Regions from separate parts of the Homo sapiens genome. Here all the other regions are linked to region 1. The links are contacts of gene promoters, found by promoter capture Hi-C in blood cells and fetal thymus (Javierre and others, 2016). All regions are on one chromosome and are shown on one strand. Each heading gives the region's core, a stretch centred on a gene start or on the middle of the fragment in contact. The rest is flanking DNA. Distances are from core to core; before and after follow the strand shown. Region 1 holds the start of NKD1 (NKD inhibitor of Wnt signaling pathway 1). Region 2 has its middle 28 kb from the start of SNX20. Region 3 has its middle 54 kb from the start of LINC02178. Region 4 holds the start of LOC101927272 (a long non-coding RNA gene). Region 5 overlaps NKD1 (NKD inhibitor of Wnt signaling pathway 1).

Region 1 (2,700 bases), core at 31-2,530:
TTATTTTTGCTGTATTATTCTTTTTGCATATTTTCAGTCCACAGATGGTTGATGCCACAGATGTGGAACCTGTGAATAAGGAGGGCTGACTGTATTGAGTTAAGCGAAATATATTATTAATATTTCATCTATTTCTTTTTACTTCTAAAAGATGTGGCGACAAGAAAATTTAAAATTACAAATGTGGCCCACATTATATTTCTATTGGGCAGTGCTGCTCTAGAGAGTCGGCAAAAAGGGCAGAATGGAGCCTCCATTATACAGATCACAAAACTGAGCACAGGTAATTCACTCCAAAGGTCGGGGCTGGTCTCACTCTGAGCTGCGGGTTTTCTTTTCCCACGCCAGAGCTGCCTGGTGCCAGGACGAGCGTAACACGGACCCACAGTGTCCCCAGAAGGGGGCAGGCGTTCTGAGAGCCACAAAGGTGGGGTGGAATCCCTTGATGTCGACCGCCACCATCCCCCTCCCCCCGCGCGACCTCCCCGCAGAGACCTCCCCAGACAAAACAAACAAACCCTTGGGTCTGGCGAACTGCAGCGGGGAGCGGAAACCAAGGAAGATCAAAGACTCAGCGGTTACCCCCTTCCGGGCCGCGCAGTTTGGCAGCGCGCCCCGACCCGGGCGGGCACCCACGGGCCCCCGGACGAGGAGATCCCAGAGACTGGCTGATAACGGGGCGCTTTGGACATTTGTCGCTGCCTGGAGAGGGCTGGGCTCACACTGGCCCGGGGTGCGCTGGGGGCTCCTCCTGGACTCCCCAAATAAGAAACTAGAGGAGTGCGGTGGTGGGGGGCGGGTCACGGGGCGGGTAATGAACACTTTCTGCAGAAGGTAGGTCGTGGGAAGACTGGGAAAAGGCAGCGCTGCCGAAGCTTGCACCTGAGCAGCTAAGGTCTCCGCTCCCGACCTCAGTTTCCCCACCTGTAAATTGGAGCCGCCGAGTCCCGCCCTGCCCGTTTAGAGAGAACGTGGAGCGGAGGGAAGTGACAGTACAGTTAGCGATGGCCGGGCTGTTCTGTCCCAATACGCCTCCTGGACAAGCCGCCCCGCCGGGTCGCCAGCCCTGGAGCTCGGCCCCCGGCCCCAGACCGCGGCAGGGAGCGCGGACTGTGTCCCGCCCCTCCCGTCAGCGCCCCGCCCTCGTCCCCGCCCTGCCCCGCCTCCGGCCCCGCCCCCGCCGCAACCAGCCTTGCCTTTGATGCGCCGCACCGGCCAATGGGCGCGCGGGGAGGCGCGGGCCGCGGCGGCGGGCTGGGGGCTCGGCGCTCCCGGGCGTCAGTCGGGCCGCGGCGACGGCGGCAGGAGCGCGTCCCGGCGCCGCCTCGGGCTCCGCTCGGCTCGGGGGCTGCTTCGGGAGGAGGAGAGCCAAGGGAGGCGCCAGGCCCGCGGGCCGGGCGCATGGCTTAGGGACGCTCCCGGCCGCCGCAGCCCCAGCATGGGGAAACTTCACTCCAAGCCGGGTCAGTGCCCCCGCCCGCGCGCTCGCCCCGGGCCCCGCCGCCGTCGCCGCCGCGGTCGCTAACTCTCTCCCTTCCTTTCTTTCCTTCTCCCGCCGCCGCGGCTGCCGCCGCCGCCGCCGCCTCGCGATGTGCCTGCAGCCGCCGTGTGCAAGCGCAGGGAGAGCCCGGAAGGTAGGGGCGCGCGGGGCGCAGACCTCGGGGATGGACGCGGGGGACACCGCGGCCGCGGCAGAACGGCCCAGCCCGCCAGGTCTTATGACCAGGGCCACCCCGAAGCCCCAGTTCCGGCCACCGGCCCCCCAAGCCCGCTCCCTGAGCAGCCTTCGCGCCCCCTCCTCTGTCCCTCCTACCCGCTCCCCGCGGTCCTGCGCTCCCACCGCTGACCCTCAACCCCTCCCCCTCCCGCGTCCCTGCCCTCGGCTCTCACGGCACCCTCTCTTCAGACCCCCAAGCGCCTCCCCGCAAGACCCTGCCCCCTCTTCCTGCCCCCCGGCCCTTCTTCCGATATCCTGGCTCCTGCACCTACTGCGGCCCCTCTCCTGACCCCCAGCCCTCTCCTCCGCAGTCCTGGCTGCCAGTGCTCCCTGGTCTGATCCTAAACCCGTCCTCCTGGGGTACTGCTCACCCCTCTTGCCCCCTTCTGGCTCCTCGCTCCTAGGGCTTCGCTGAACCCCCCTTTACTTACCCGCGTCCCTCTCTTGGCTCCTGCCCCAGCCCGCGAACCCCCTCCTGGCCCCCGTGCCGTGGTCCTTCGCCTCCCACCGCGCCTCCTTCTTCCCTCCGCGGGGGTAACTTTTGGCACCTGGAGCCAGACTCAGGGGCTTCATGTCGTCCCCGTCCCAGGTGACAGCTTCGCCGTGAGCGCTGCCTGGGCTCGGAAGGGCATCGAGGAGTGGATCGGGAGACAGCGCTGCCCGGGCGGTGTCTCGGGACCCCGACAGCTGCGGTTGGCGGGCACCATAGGCCGAAGCACCCGGGTATGATTCCCCACCCCTGCCCCACCTCCTGGCCTCCTTTCAGCCTCAGAGATGGGTCCCCAAACCCATGCACCCCAACTTTGAGCACTTTCCTGCACAGCTTCTGGGTCTGAAAATCTCTTCTCAGCTGCCCCCTGCCCCACCAACGCGACCCTCTGCCCGCATGCCTTGGAGAACCTCGAAGTGCCCAGCTGGAGGCAGAGGGCTGCCTGGGGGAAAGGTCCTAGGTGGGGAGGTGGTGAAGGTCCAGTTGATGGGGA
Region 2 (2,700 bases), core at 43-2,542, 110 kb after region 1:
AACCGTTTCCCCTCTGTGAGTCTCAGTTTGCCCGTGTCTGCAATGGGGTTAATTACATCATAAGACACCGGCTGTTGTGAGCAGCGAGATAATCCCCAAGGCTGCTGACAGTGAGAAGGAGGGCTGCCTAGGGTCCAAAGAGATGCAAGAGGCAGTGGCCAGTTTCCTGTCCACATCATCCCCCCAACACATACTGGTTCAGATTCAGTTCCATCTGAGCTGGGCTCCAGCTTGACCAGGTACCATGATGGCAGCTGCCGCCTCACTTCCAACACCATCTCCCGGACCACATGCCTGCTCACAAACCCTTTGGAATACTTCGGAGGCCCTCAGTGGCTTCACGTCTCATGGCCGAGGGTGGATTAGGCGGGGTGCCTAGATGCGGGGAGGACAGGCAGGCCTTCCCTTAAACAGTCAGCCAAGCATCACATGCCGCCTGTCAAAGGGGGGTTTCAGATGCGGGGATTATGAACACCAAGAGTACAATTTCCTGATAAAATAGAAGAGGCGATTAAGTTAATGAAGGCTCATTTTGCTGATTTGAAAACTATAATTAATAGACATTAATTGTATATTTAGAAGTTTAGTGTGGCGTGGGCTCAGGAGCCGTTGTCAAACACAATGACGTTGTAAGTACTGCATAATAGACCGAGCCCAGATGTTCCCCGAAGCCCCTCACGAGAGCTTTGCAAGGGGCTTCTCTAATGATAAAAGCTGCCTCTTGCTGTTCTGCTCTTCCTTTAATGACATCCTTTCTGAGACGATGCTTATCACTCGTGCTTTCATCTTTGGTTAAATAGCATATGGCCTCAGCTGATTAAAAACCCCTCCTGGTTTTAATCAGCAACTCGGGATCAGGTTTCTAATGGTGGCCGTGGTGGCCTTACCAGTCCCATGGTAAGGTTTTTGACCACATCTACATGTGGAGAAAGGGTGGTGGGAGTGAGGGGCTTGGAGCTGGCCCTGTCTGGGTCCTGGGTTGAAGGACAGCTGCTGTGGCCCTCCTGGAATGACCTGAGCCAGGGCCAGTTCCAGGGATGCCTTGGGGATCAGGCTGGGCTAGTTCAGGCAGTCTTCAGGGGACCAAGTTGGCTCAAGGCCAGGCCCGGCTCACCTTGGCTGTGGCTGGAAAGTTGGACTCTCAGATCCCCTCCTTCTTAGCAAAAGCTTCAATGTTTGAGGCAAACTCTGCAGGGTCCACCCAGCTAAGGAGGAAGAGGAAGGGCCACAGAAGAGACTCGAGCGATGGAATCAGATGATGGAGCTTGAATCCTGGTCCCACTGCCTGGTGGCTGTTTAGGCTGCACCAATTGGAGACTTGCTTTCTCATGATCATCAGATGACCTCTGTTAAGTCTCTTTTTATCCCCATTGTACAGATGAGAAAACTGAGGCTCATTCCAGGGTTGAGAGCTGACTAAGCTTGGTCTGTGAGTCAGGAAGGATGGTGATGCTCACAAAAAAGGGACACAGAAATGGGGGCCAGGAACTTTGAGGAGGGACTGTTCAATCCCCTCCCTTCTCCGATATGAGCCCCTTAAGGAATGGGATGGGACCATGTCTGTCCTGGTCATTATGGGAGAGCCAGTGCTGAGCACAGTGCCAGGTCTATGTCAGGTCAGTCCCCAACAGGTGTTTTGAGAGGTAGTGATCCCATGGGAGGTAGCAGAGTGGACCGCAGCTGGTGGCATCCAGCAGGCAGGTGACAGATTTCTATTGATCGCTGGCTCTGCACACACTCCCCCTGCGCTCTAGCTCCTCCTGCCTGCATGGGATCATAAGGCTCATTCTGGCCTATGGCTGGGAGTGGAAGTGCCTGGATGAAAGTATTTAAGAGCCAGTTCGTGTCTCTTTAGTTCTCTCTGCCCCTAAAGCCTCATGTTGACATGGCACAGCTGCAAGAGAGGAGGAGCCTGGTTTGCTGAGCTGTGGCATGGAAGAAAAGCGTCTTGGTTACAGAAATCAGCTGGGTGTCAGTCCCAACTATTCAGGAGGCTGAGACGGGAGGATCACTTGAGTCCAGGAGGTCGAGGCTGCAGTGAGCCGTGATTGTGCCACTGCTCTCAGGCTGGCAACAGAGTGAGACCCTGTCTCAAAAAGAAAAGAAAAGAAATTATCCTGGAGAGTCGCCTGCATTGCCCTGGACTTTGTGAGCATGAGAAGTACCCTGTGATATGTGAAGCCATGGAGAGTTAAGGTTATTGTCTGTATGCAGACTTACATTCCTGCCACAGAACCCAGCCCATTCTGACTACAAGGCAGAGTTTCTGAACTGGAGTTAGAGAGGGAGGGAGGGCTGGATTCAGGGATCTGGCTGGTGTGATCCTAGTTTGACAGGCTCAGGGTCATCTGGTCAACCCCTGCCTGGCACCCACAGCCCCTGGGCCATCCCCTCCTCTCTGTGTGCCAGACAAGGTAGGCTGTCGTATGGGGTCTCCTTGGTGGAGGAGGGTCCTCAGGAGGAGGCCCAGGAGAATGGGCCTGGAGGGACTTGGAGGTGGTGGCCCTTCCTTGCTTTGCCACCTTGCTTGATACAGGCCTGTGGGGAGAAGTGCGGGGGTCCTTATCCAAGCCCAGCCTCTGTAGCTGTGAAGGGTCCCCTAGACACTTGTGAACAGTATATTCTGGGCCCCCCACATCTGTTCTCAATACTAAATAATTTGTTTTCTTCTCTGAGCATATTTAATTCATTTAATGTCTG
Region 3 (2,700 bases), core at 193-2,692, 99 kb before region 1:
GGAGGCTGGAAGGAGAGAGAGGAGGTGGAGTTGTGAGAGCTTGAGAGCTAGGGCTGTGCAGCAGGAGGCTGAATTTGAAGGTTGGTGGGGGCTCTCTGCTGGGAGCTGAGAGCTGACACAGTGGTGTTGGGGACACCACAGGAAACACAGTGAGGGGAGAAACACTTTAGCTTTTCTCTCCCCTCGCTCTCCACAGTGCTGCCCATTGGCCAAACCAACCCAGAAACCAGGTGGCCAAGAAGTCCAGGGAACGTCACTCCTGGATACAGAGCAGAGCGTAAGGGCAGAGATAAGACCCGATATCAAACGGGCAGGTGACTGGCACAGGAAATTCACATCACTAAGGAGGATCCAGCACTAAGGGTGGTAACAGCAATCACTGATTAATGGCATCACTCGGGGCTTTCCCTGCAGTGGTGCCCTTGCACCCGGGAGAACTCGCTTACCGGTGAGGAAGTGAAGGCACAGTGCTGTCTGCATGGTCACTTAGCGGGGAGGGGAGAAGCGGCTGTCACCCTGCCTCCTGCTCTGGACTCCGCTGTCCCTTTCAGGCTGCAGATGCCCTCCAAGGCTGGTCTCCACTGGTCCTTAGGAGCATAGGCTCTGGGTTGAGTGATGCCTCCCTCTGACAGCACCGCACATGGAGTGTGGAGTTCTCAATAAAGGGTAGTTATTAACACGTCCATGGCCCCATCTTACGGCTGAGAAAATTGAGGTGCCAGCAGTTATGGGACACCCCCTCGCCCCCGCCAGGTTTCCTAGCTAGCTGGTGGCAGTGCTGGGAGCTTGAATCCATCACTTCTGGCTCCAAAGCGATTACTCTTAACTTCTGGGGCCCCTGCCCAAGCCAGGATACACCCTGGCACTCCTTCTTGTGGCCACTGTTGGGATCCACACCCAGGCCCCTCTCTGGCTCATTAACTCTGCCAGGACGGCTGGGCTGCCTGGGCTCAGGCGTGACCCACACGCCCAATTAGAGGGATTCAAAACGCCATTTACTTATCAATGACCTAAGCTCATTTGATTATGAAGGATGGAGCCCAAACTGTTCTCTGAAGCCACTGTCGTCCCTCAGCTGTGCCAAATCCTCCCTTGATCTGCTAATCCTGAGTTTATAAGGTTAGGAGATAAGCAGGCGGAACGCAATTCTTTTCTTTTTTGGTCCACCTAAGTGGCCATGAAACCCCTAACCATCATAGACCTCTCGGGCCCCTGTGGCCTCCCTGTCTGAATAATTCAGACGGTGTGTGAAGGAAGCCCCCACAGTCCTGGTACGCACAGGCCATCTGGGGCAGGCACTCCCCACCGATCAGCCTGGCTCTTCCTTCTCCTGCTCTTCCTTTTTTTCCCTCCTCTTTCTTGTACTGGCCTTTTTATGCTCACCTCAGGCTTGGGAAAGCCAGGCAGCCAGCCCAGCCGGTGACCCCGCCGAACCGTGGGGACCTGCTCCTCCTTGCGCCCCCTTTTGTCCCAGGCACAAATAGATCCCTCCGCCTCAAGCCCCATTGCGTGATATTCACCATGAAGAGGTGATAGACCCTGTCCCTAAGACATTTCCATTCTAGTGGGGGACAAGACTTCAGCCACTTGAGCCCAAACCATACTTAGGGTGTTCCTGTGGAGAAAGACCCCAGGTGTTTACAACACAATGCTCGCTGAAAGAGCTGAGAGACTCCTCAGCCGGACAATGGGGGTGTCAATCCCAGCTTTCACCAGCTGTGTGACATTAGGCAACCAGTTAGCCTCTCTGAACCTCTGTTTCTTCATTAATAAAATGGGGATAATGAAGGTACCTGTCATCACTAATTTAATTCTCACAATAAGAAGCAAATGGGGACACCTACAGCCTGGTACAGAATAAACCCTTAATAAAGGACATTGGTGATGACTTTTGTTCTCTATAACTACGAGGACAGCTTATACCACACAGCATTTCCCACACGCCCATTCTGCAGTGGATCTGTGGCTGCTGTCTGTCCTCACAGATCTCAGACACGAATTGGGAGGACCCTACCATGTTTCTCATGCCAATGATGGGAGAGAGATCCCGGGAAAAGGGATTGAGATCCATATGGTGGGTGGTCTCAGGGAGACATTGCCACGTGCTCTTGCAAACAGCTCTGGCTGTCACTCAAGCTACAGACTGACGAGGGCTACAGGGGAGAGCTCAGCAGGTCAGAAGAGGCCCGGGCCACTTTGAAGAGAAACAGTCTCATGGTTCAGCCCGAGCCTGACAGGTTGGAGAGCTGGGCCTGGAAGGCAGGTGGCCTGACCTATTTAACATGGAATTCATGCTTTAGATGCAAGAGGCTTTCAAGGGTAAAAGCTGGACCCAGGGGAGAAGAGAGAGGCTGAAGCAACATGGCCTGCTTGCCTTCCGCTGGGGGGTGGCAGAGAGGGGGTGAGGACAGGAGCACTGCTTTGGAGTCTGGAGGCTGCTTCTATCCTCATTCTACTTCCTACCAGCTCTCAGTCCTTGGCCGATTTGCCTCACCTGGATGAGCCCCCCTTGGCCTGGCGCCTGCCTCTCTGTTTTTCAACTTTGAGTTCCTTTGAGCTGAGATAGGTTTATTCATCTCCGTATAACCCACATGTCAGTAGAGATCACCCCATTTTTAAGAGGTTCATGAAATAGACATAAACTCTGTGTTCACATCTTGGGGTACAGGTGACTAGTGACCAAGCCAACCTGAGATTTCT
Region 4 (2,700 bases), core at 1-2,500, 120 kb after region 1:
GCCCAAGAGAGGCCTGCTGGGGATGTGTTGGGAGCCAACCTACCCCTACCAGCAGGTGGAACTGGTTTTGCCACTCCAAAACAGAGTTCCAGCTATGGGGACAGCCACTAGAGAGCAGAGCTAAGGGCATTCTAGGCCAAGGGGTCACAGTCCACCCTGAACTGTGCCTCCCAGCCTGAAGCCAGAAAGCTCAGGGAGGCTAGCGGCCCTGCCCAGGCCTCAGCACTGACCCTGCACCCCTAGGCCCAGCTGGATGACCCCTAAGAGCTTCCTGGAATTTGGATGCAGGGTTATTCTGTGTGTGCTGCCTCTCAGAGCATGTCACTTTGACGTGGACATCTCGGGTCTGGTTCTGGTGCTGTCCCTGTCTCGCCACGTGACCCTGGATAAGTCATCTCTCCAGGCCTTGATTTCCCCATCTGTAAACAGAGGTGAGTGAAATGATCTTTAAAGGCGTGTCAGTCCATTTTGCATTGCTATAAAGGAATACCTGAGGTTGGGTAGCTTATAAAGAAAAGAGGGTTATTTGGCTCACAGTTGTGCAGGTTGTACAGAAGCATGGCACCAGCATTGCTTCTTGTGAAGCTTCAGGAAGCTTCCACTTATGGTGGAAGGGGAAGGGGGAGTTCGTGACTTACATGGCAAGAGAGGGAGCAAGAGCCATGTCAGGCTCTTCTAAACAACCAGCTCTCATGTAAACTAACAGAGTGAGAACTCATTCATTACCACGGGGAGGGCACCAAGCCATCCATGAGGGACCTGCCCCCATGAGCCAAACATCTCCCACCAGGCCACACCTTCAACACTGGGAGTCACATTCAGCATGAGATTTGGAGGTGACCACCATGCATCCAAACCATATCAAGGACCCATTTCGGTGAGGGGACCAGGAACATATCCCTTCCCCTCTCCTCCACATCCTTTAATGTGGAGTTCAGCAAGGAAAGTAGGGCTTGGGTCAAATTAAAGCCTGGTCTTAATTTCCTGGTCCAGTTATTAGCTGTGTAACCCTGGGCAAGTCACTTAACCCCCTCAGGTTACAATGTTACAAATGATCACATTTTCCTCAACTGAAAAATGGGATAGGAACATGTCCCAAGCAGAGCTGGAGTGACGGTGCTATCAATGGCCCGGCAGTGCCTGGTCACACAGTAGGCCTGGGGAGCCCTGACTTTTACCGCACAGGGAGCTGCTTGCAGAGCTTGTTTTCAATTGTGGGCTTGGCAGGGAACTGCCGGCATCCCAGGGGACAGGGTCTCATGAGGATGCCTAATCCCAGCTCAAAGTGGAGACCCCAGGACTCCATCACAGCCAGTGGGGGGGAGTGGCTGCTGCAGCAGGGAGGGCTTCATTGGAATGAACCCCTTTAAGCTCCAGTCCAAATGCCCAGAGTGGTTTTGCAGGTATGGTTGTGAGGCTGGCATGGTAGTCCCATCTGCAGTCCCCTGGGATGAGGCACCTGTATGGTAGAGGGCCCGGGTGGAGAGAAGAGAAGGATGGGGATGAACCCAGGACCACAGATGGCCCAGTTCCATGGATGATTTTCATTGAGGTGCCTTCAAGTCAGTTCAACACTGGGCTTCTCAACCTTTGAGGTATGCAGGTAAGAGTCACCTGCGGCAGTGGGGGATGCTCTTGTTAAAGTGCAGACTCCGATTAAGCAGGTCTAGGGTGGGGCCTGAAATTCTGTGTTCCTAACAAGGCTCCATCCTGGGTATGGAGGTCAGGTACCCCCTCACCTCTCCTGTGGACCCAGCTTTTGAGGGGTCAGGAGAAGAATGTTCAGTCCCAGCTGCCACCACTCTAAAGTCCCCTAGAAACAAGGACTAATACAGGTGGCGTGGGAGAGGGCCCAGGCAAACAGGGAGGTGGGGTACCCCGGTGGGGCTGCAGTGGGCCCTGCGGAAAGCTTGCTGGAGGTGGGGGCCTAAGGAATTCAAGGACTTGTTCCAGGAACCCAAGGAACGAGTGGGCTCTAACTGCTGCAGCATATGGGAGATGCCAGGAGGAGCTGGCTGTGGCAGGCCATCCCAGTCCATCAGACAACTTGTAGTGGATGAAGATGCAGTGTCCATGGCCAGAAGAAACTCCCGTGGATGCTCAGGCCAAGGCTGCCAGAAGCACGAGGAGGGGCAGCATTGAGTGTCATCGGGAAAAGGCAAAGTGATGGTCCTGAAGCTGCCCCATGTGGCCAGTCCCTTTTTGGGAAGCCTGAATAAATCCATTTCCTGTGCACTGTGTGGGAAGCCAACCCCTCTTCAGAGGTACTTATGGGGAACCCCCCATGTGATTCTATAGGCTCCTTTACTCCCATATAAGTATTTTCTCTCTGTGTGCACCCCCCGCCCCACCCCCCCAACACCCCACACATATCATCTATCTGTGATTTTGAGATGACTTTTTTTTTTCACATTTCAGCACCTCTGAACTCAACAGGATCCTACACTTCTTATAGGCCTGGCTTGATGCTGACATCCTTCAGCCCCAGGGAAGACCTAAAGATCTCCAGGTCTTGAGGCACCTGGAACACCTCCACCTGAGACCACTTTAACATGATTTCTCTGCTTGAGGGATTTTGGACCATGCTGTGTGTATTCAGCCCTAAAACATGGGCGAGTGCCCGCTTGCAGTTCAAATTCTCAGAGGAAGTTCCCTGTACTCCACCCAGTGCCAAGTTTAGTTTGTGCAAATTTCCTTAAT
Region 5 (2,855 bases), core at 87-2,586, 74 kb after region 1:
CAGGACCGTGACCTTTGGCAGAGAGGGGAGGACCTGGGGTGAGCAGAGGCCAAATGCAAGGTTCAGGATGAGCGTGCTCCCTGAAGATGCCTTTTGTGTATGTGTGAGTGTGTGTGCATGTGTGAGTGTGCATATGTGTGCAAGCAGGTGTGATGCATGAGTGTACATATGTCTGCATGTGCGTGTGTATGTGTGTCCATGTGCGCTTGTGCATACATGTATGTGGACGGTGCATGTGTGCACTTCTTTGCCAACCCAGTTGAACTCTGTTTCTGGCACTCCTCCTGGCCATCCACCAAGGTGCCGTAGGCTGTGCTCAGGTGGGTGGCACCTTTGAGGAGGCCAAAATGTCAACACAGAAGGCAGTGAGACTGCAGAAAATGGCCATGGTCCCTAAGCTCCCTCGCTGGGCTCCAGAAGCACCCCTCCACTCTCATCCATCTGCCCTCTGGCCTGACACTGCTCTGGGTGGCTGTGTGCCTCCATAGGGCAGAAGTCATAGGCTGGTGGGGGCCTGAGGGGGCCCCCCACGGTGCAAGTGGGTGCACCATGTTGGGGGAAGGTCTTCCCAGGCAGTACCAGGTGCCAGAGTAGTGTGATGTTGACCCCAGCAAATGGGCAGGGCAGGAGCGGGCCCAGCCCCCTGGCGAGAATGTCCAGGCCAGGCATGGAGGACAAAGGTGCAGTGAGCATGGCTGCCCGGCGTCTGGACCCTGCTCCTAATGCTCCCTCGCCTGCCTCCCCGACAGTGGCCCTGCCTCCTGAGAAGACTGACGGGCTGGGCAGCGGAGATGAGAAGAAGATGGAGAGAGTGAGCGAACCCTGCCCAGGCTCCAAGAAGCAGCTGAAGTTTGAAGTAAGTTTCCTTTTGGTGCTGGGTCCTGAGGAGATGAGATGGGTTTTCTCAGCTTGGGGCTTTGGGAGGAGGGAAGCTGAGGCTCTTCCAGACAGGAAGGCCCCTCCCCTGCATGAACAGCACCCTCTGTGGGAGGTTCCTTCTGCCACATCTGGGGCCGTCCTGGCTCAGGGCAGACCCCAGGGACTCACCGCTGCCCACCCCCTCAGCCCAGCCCCAGCCCCTCCATGCGGGCTGTGCCCAGCAGCTTGGGAGAGGGCATGAGAGTAGACGAGGGAGGCAGGACTCTGGCCCTTCTGTTGCTGTCACCTCTCTGGGCCTCAGTTTCCTCGGTGAAACCTTCCCTTCCAACTCTTGAGGCTGTTCTGGGGGTGCCTGTGGGGGATCTCAGGTGGGATGGATGAACAGGAGGTACGGGCAGGACCCTGACGCTCTCTGGGCCTGAGTTTCCCCATGTGGGCACCACCAAGGATGTGCCTCCGTGTGGCTCTGTGCAGTGCTTAGAGGAGGGAGTAGCAGCTGTGGGCAGAGGTTGGTGAGGCTCTGAGCGTAGGGGTAGGAGTTGGGAGAGGGATGTACAAGGGAGTCTTTGGGAAAAGAAGGGCCTTTGGGGTGAGAAGGGGACAGTTGAGTGCCCCAGACCCAGTGGCTGCACAGTCTGTTCCCCACCGCCTGATAGTGTAGCACGCTCCTGTGCCCCCAGCACAGTGGCCAGTGCTGAGAGCCAGGCCCAGGCCTGCTGCATGGAGCTTCCCCACTGCTCTGCCCTCCTTGCTCCCTCCCTCCTTCCCTCTGTTTGCCTTCCTGAGACCACCAGGGCATAGCTCTAGAGTCAGCAGGCCTGGGTTCAAATCCTGGCTATACACTTAGTAGCTCTGAGACTTTGGGGCAAGTTCCCTAAAGTCTCAGTGGCCTCACGTGCCTCGCCTGTAAGGTGGGGATAATGGTGATGTCTGTCGCATTGGGCTGTTGTCAGCAGCATGAGTTCGTGCGCCTAAAGGTCTAAAGTGCTTAAGAGGGTGCCCCTCTTTCTCACCAATGCTGATTGGCACCGGCTAATTGCCAGGGTACCCAGCTTAGACTGGGTGTGGTTCCTGCCGTCAAGGAGTGCACAGTGTGACCAGGGGACAGTTGAGCGCCCCAAACCCAGTGGCTGCACAGTCAGTGATGAGATGAGATCTGGGAGCCTGGAGTGGGGTCAGGCCGAGGGGTGTGGGGTAACGGACACTTGGCATTTCCAGGCTCTGTGCGGTGCCTGGAGGAGGGAACAGCGGCTGTGGATAGAGACTGGGGAGGTGGGTGAGGCTCTGAGCATAGGGGTAGGAGTTGGGAGAGGGGTGCACAGGGGAGCCTTTGGGGTGAGAAGGGCCTATCAGGCAGAGGGAGCTGCAGGAGCAAAGGCCTGGAGGCTGAAGTGCCGGCGTGCTGTGTGGAGAGAGTGAGTGGCGTGATGTGGCCTGTGCTGGATGGTGGGACATGGGGGAGACGCCCTGTGTGCAGGGTCTCTGGTGACCGATCTTACCCCCTTTCCAGTGTCATCTCCCTGCCATGCCCCACCATCCTGCACAGGCCACACCACACAGCTTGTTCTCCCCACACAGCACAGGAGCACTCCAGCCTCCAAGAGGCTTGAAGGCTCGCCTGAGGAGGATAGGTAGTATCTAGTAGGAGTTAGGGCTGCCAGCTTCTTCCTGGAGCCCAGCCCCGCCCTAAGCCCACCTGGGTCCTTGTAGGGTCTTTTGGGGAGCTTGGCAAAGCCCAGGGCTGAACTCAGTGGCAGAAGGAAGACCAGGCCCAGGCATCCTGCCTCCCTGGAAGCCCAAGTGCGCTTGCTTCTGGAGGGGCAGACTTGGGACTGAGCTGTGGTCCATGGGCAGGACTCAACTGAGCTGAGAAGCCCAGGTGGGGTGTGGGAGAGGCCTAGGAGACCCGCATGTGACAGGTGGGACAAGTGGCCAGTTACTCAACTCATGTTTCTGAAGCTCAGACCCAAGCTGTC

What was found. The method cuts DNA at HindIII sites, captures the fragments that hold promoters and counts their contacts. A CHiCAGO score of 5 or more calls a contact.
Region 2: a fragment that was not itself captured here is called in contact with the fragment with the promoter of NKD1 in region 1 in 13 of 17 cell types (non-activated CD4 T cells, naive B cells, naive CD8 T cells and 10 more); the score reaches 15.9 in non-activated CD4 T cells.
Region 3: a fragment that was not itself captured here is called in contact with the fragment with the promoter of NKD1 in region 1 in 1 of 17 cell types (naive CD4 T cells); the score reaches 5.3 in naive CD4 T cells.
Region 4: a contact is called between a fragment that was not itself captured here and the fragment with the promoter of NKD1 in region 1, in 9 of 17 cell types (non-activated CD4 T cells, naive CD8 T cells, total B cells and 6 more). The highest score is 11.5, in non-activated CD4 T cells.
Region 5: a contact is called between a fragment that was not itself captured here and the fragment with the promoter of NKD1 in region 1, in 7 of 17 cell types (non-activated CD4 T cells, naive CD4 T cells, naive CD8 T cells and 4 more). The highest score is 16.8, in non-activated CD4 T cells.

The regions. Positions count from the first base shown.
Region 1 is chr16:50,547,116-50,549,815 of GRCh38, forward strand. NKD1 (NKD inhibitor of Wnt signaling pathway 1) reads left to right here and starts at 1,281. Exons shown (of 10, transcript NM_033119.5): 1 at 1,281-1,463; 2 at 1,602-1,634; 3 at 2,307-2,440. The coding sequence starts at 1,439. RefSeq lists silencers at 924-1,373, 1,414-1,603. The HindIII fragment of the contact is 5,196 bases long and covers 874-2,700 here.
Region 2 is chr16:50,652,456-50,655,155 of GRCh38, forward strand. No RefSeq gene overlaps it. Among named protein-coding and RNA genes, the nearest start is that of SNX20, 28 kb to the right of the region's middle. RefSeq lists a silencer at 1,919-2,099. The HindIII fragment of the contact is 254 bases long and covers 1,166-1,419 here.
Region 3 is chr16:50,447,774-50,450,473 of GRCh38, forward strand. No RefSeq gene overlaps it. Among named protein-coding and RNA genes, the nearest start is that of LINC02178, 54 kb to the left of the region's middle. RefSeq lists a silencer at 805-1,099. The HindIII fragment of the contact is 8,671 bases long and covers 1-2,700 here.
Region 4 is chr16:50,668,730-50,671,429 of GRCh38, forward strand. LOC101927272 (a long non-coding RNA gene) reads left to right here and starts at 126. Exons shown (of 3, transcript NR_110908.1): 1 at 126-431; 2 at 1,954-2,264; 3 at 2,419-2,700. It also overlaps a transcript of SNX20 not described here. The HindIII fragment of the contact is 1,314 bases long and covers 594-1,907 here.
Region 5 is chr16:50,620,853-50,623,707 of GRCh38, forward strand. NKD1 (NKD inhibitor of Wnt signaling pathway 1) reads left to right here. Exons shown (of 10, transcript NM_033119.5): 5 at 750-856. Among named protein-coding and RNA genes, the nearest start is that of NKD1-AS1, 8.6 kb to the left of the region's middle. RefSeq lists enhancers at 1-17, 68-575. The HindIII fragment of the contact is 9,441 bases long and covers 1-2,855 here.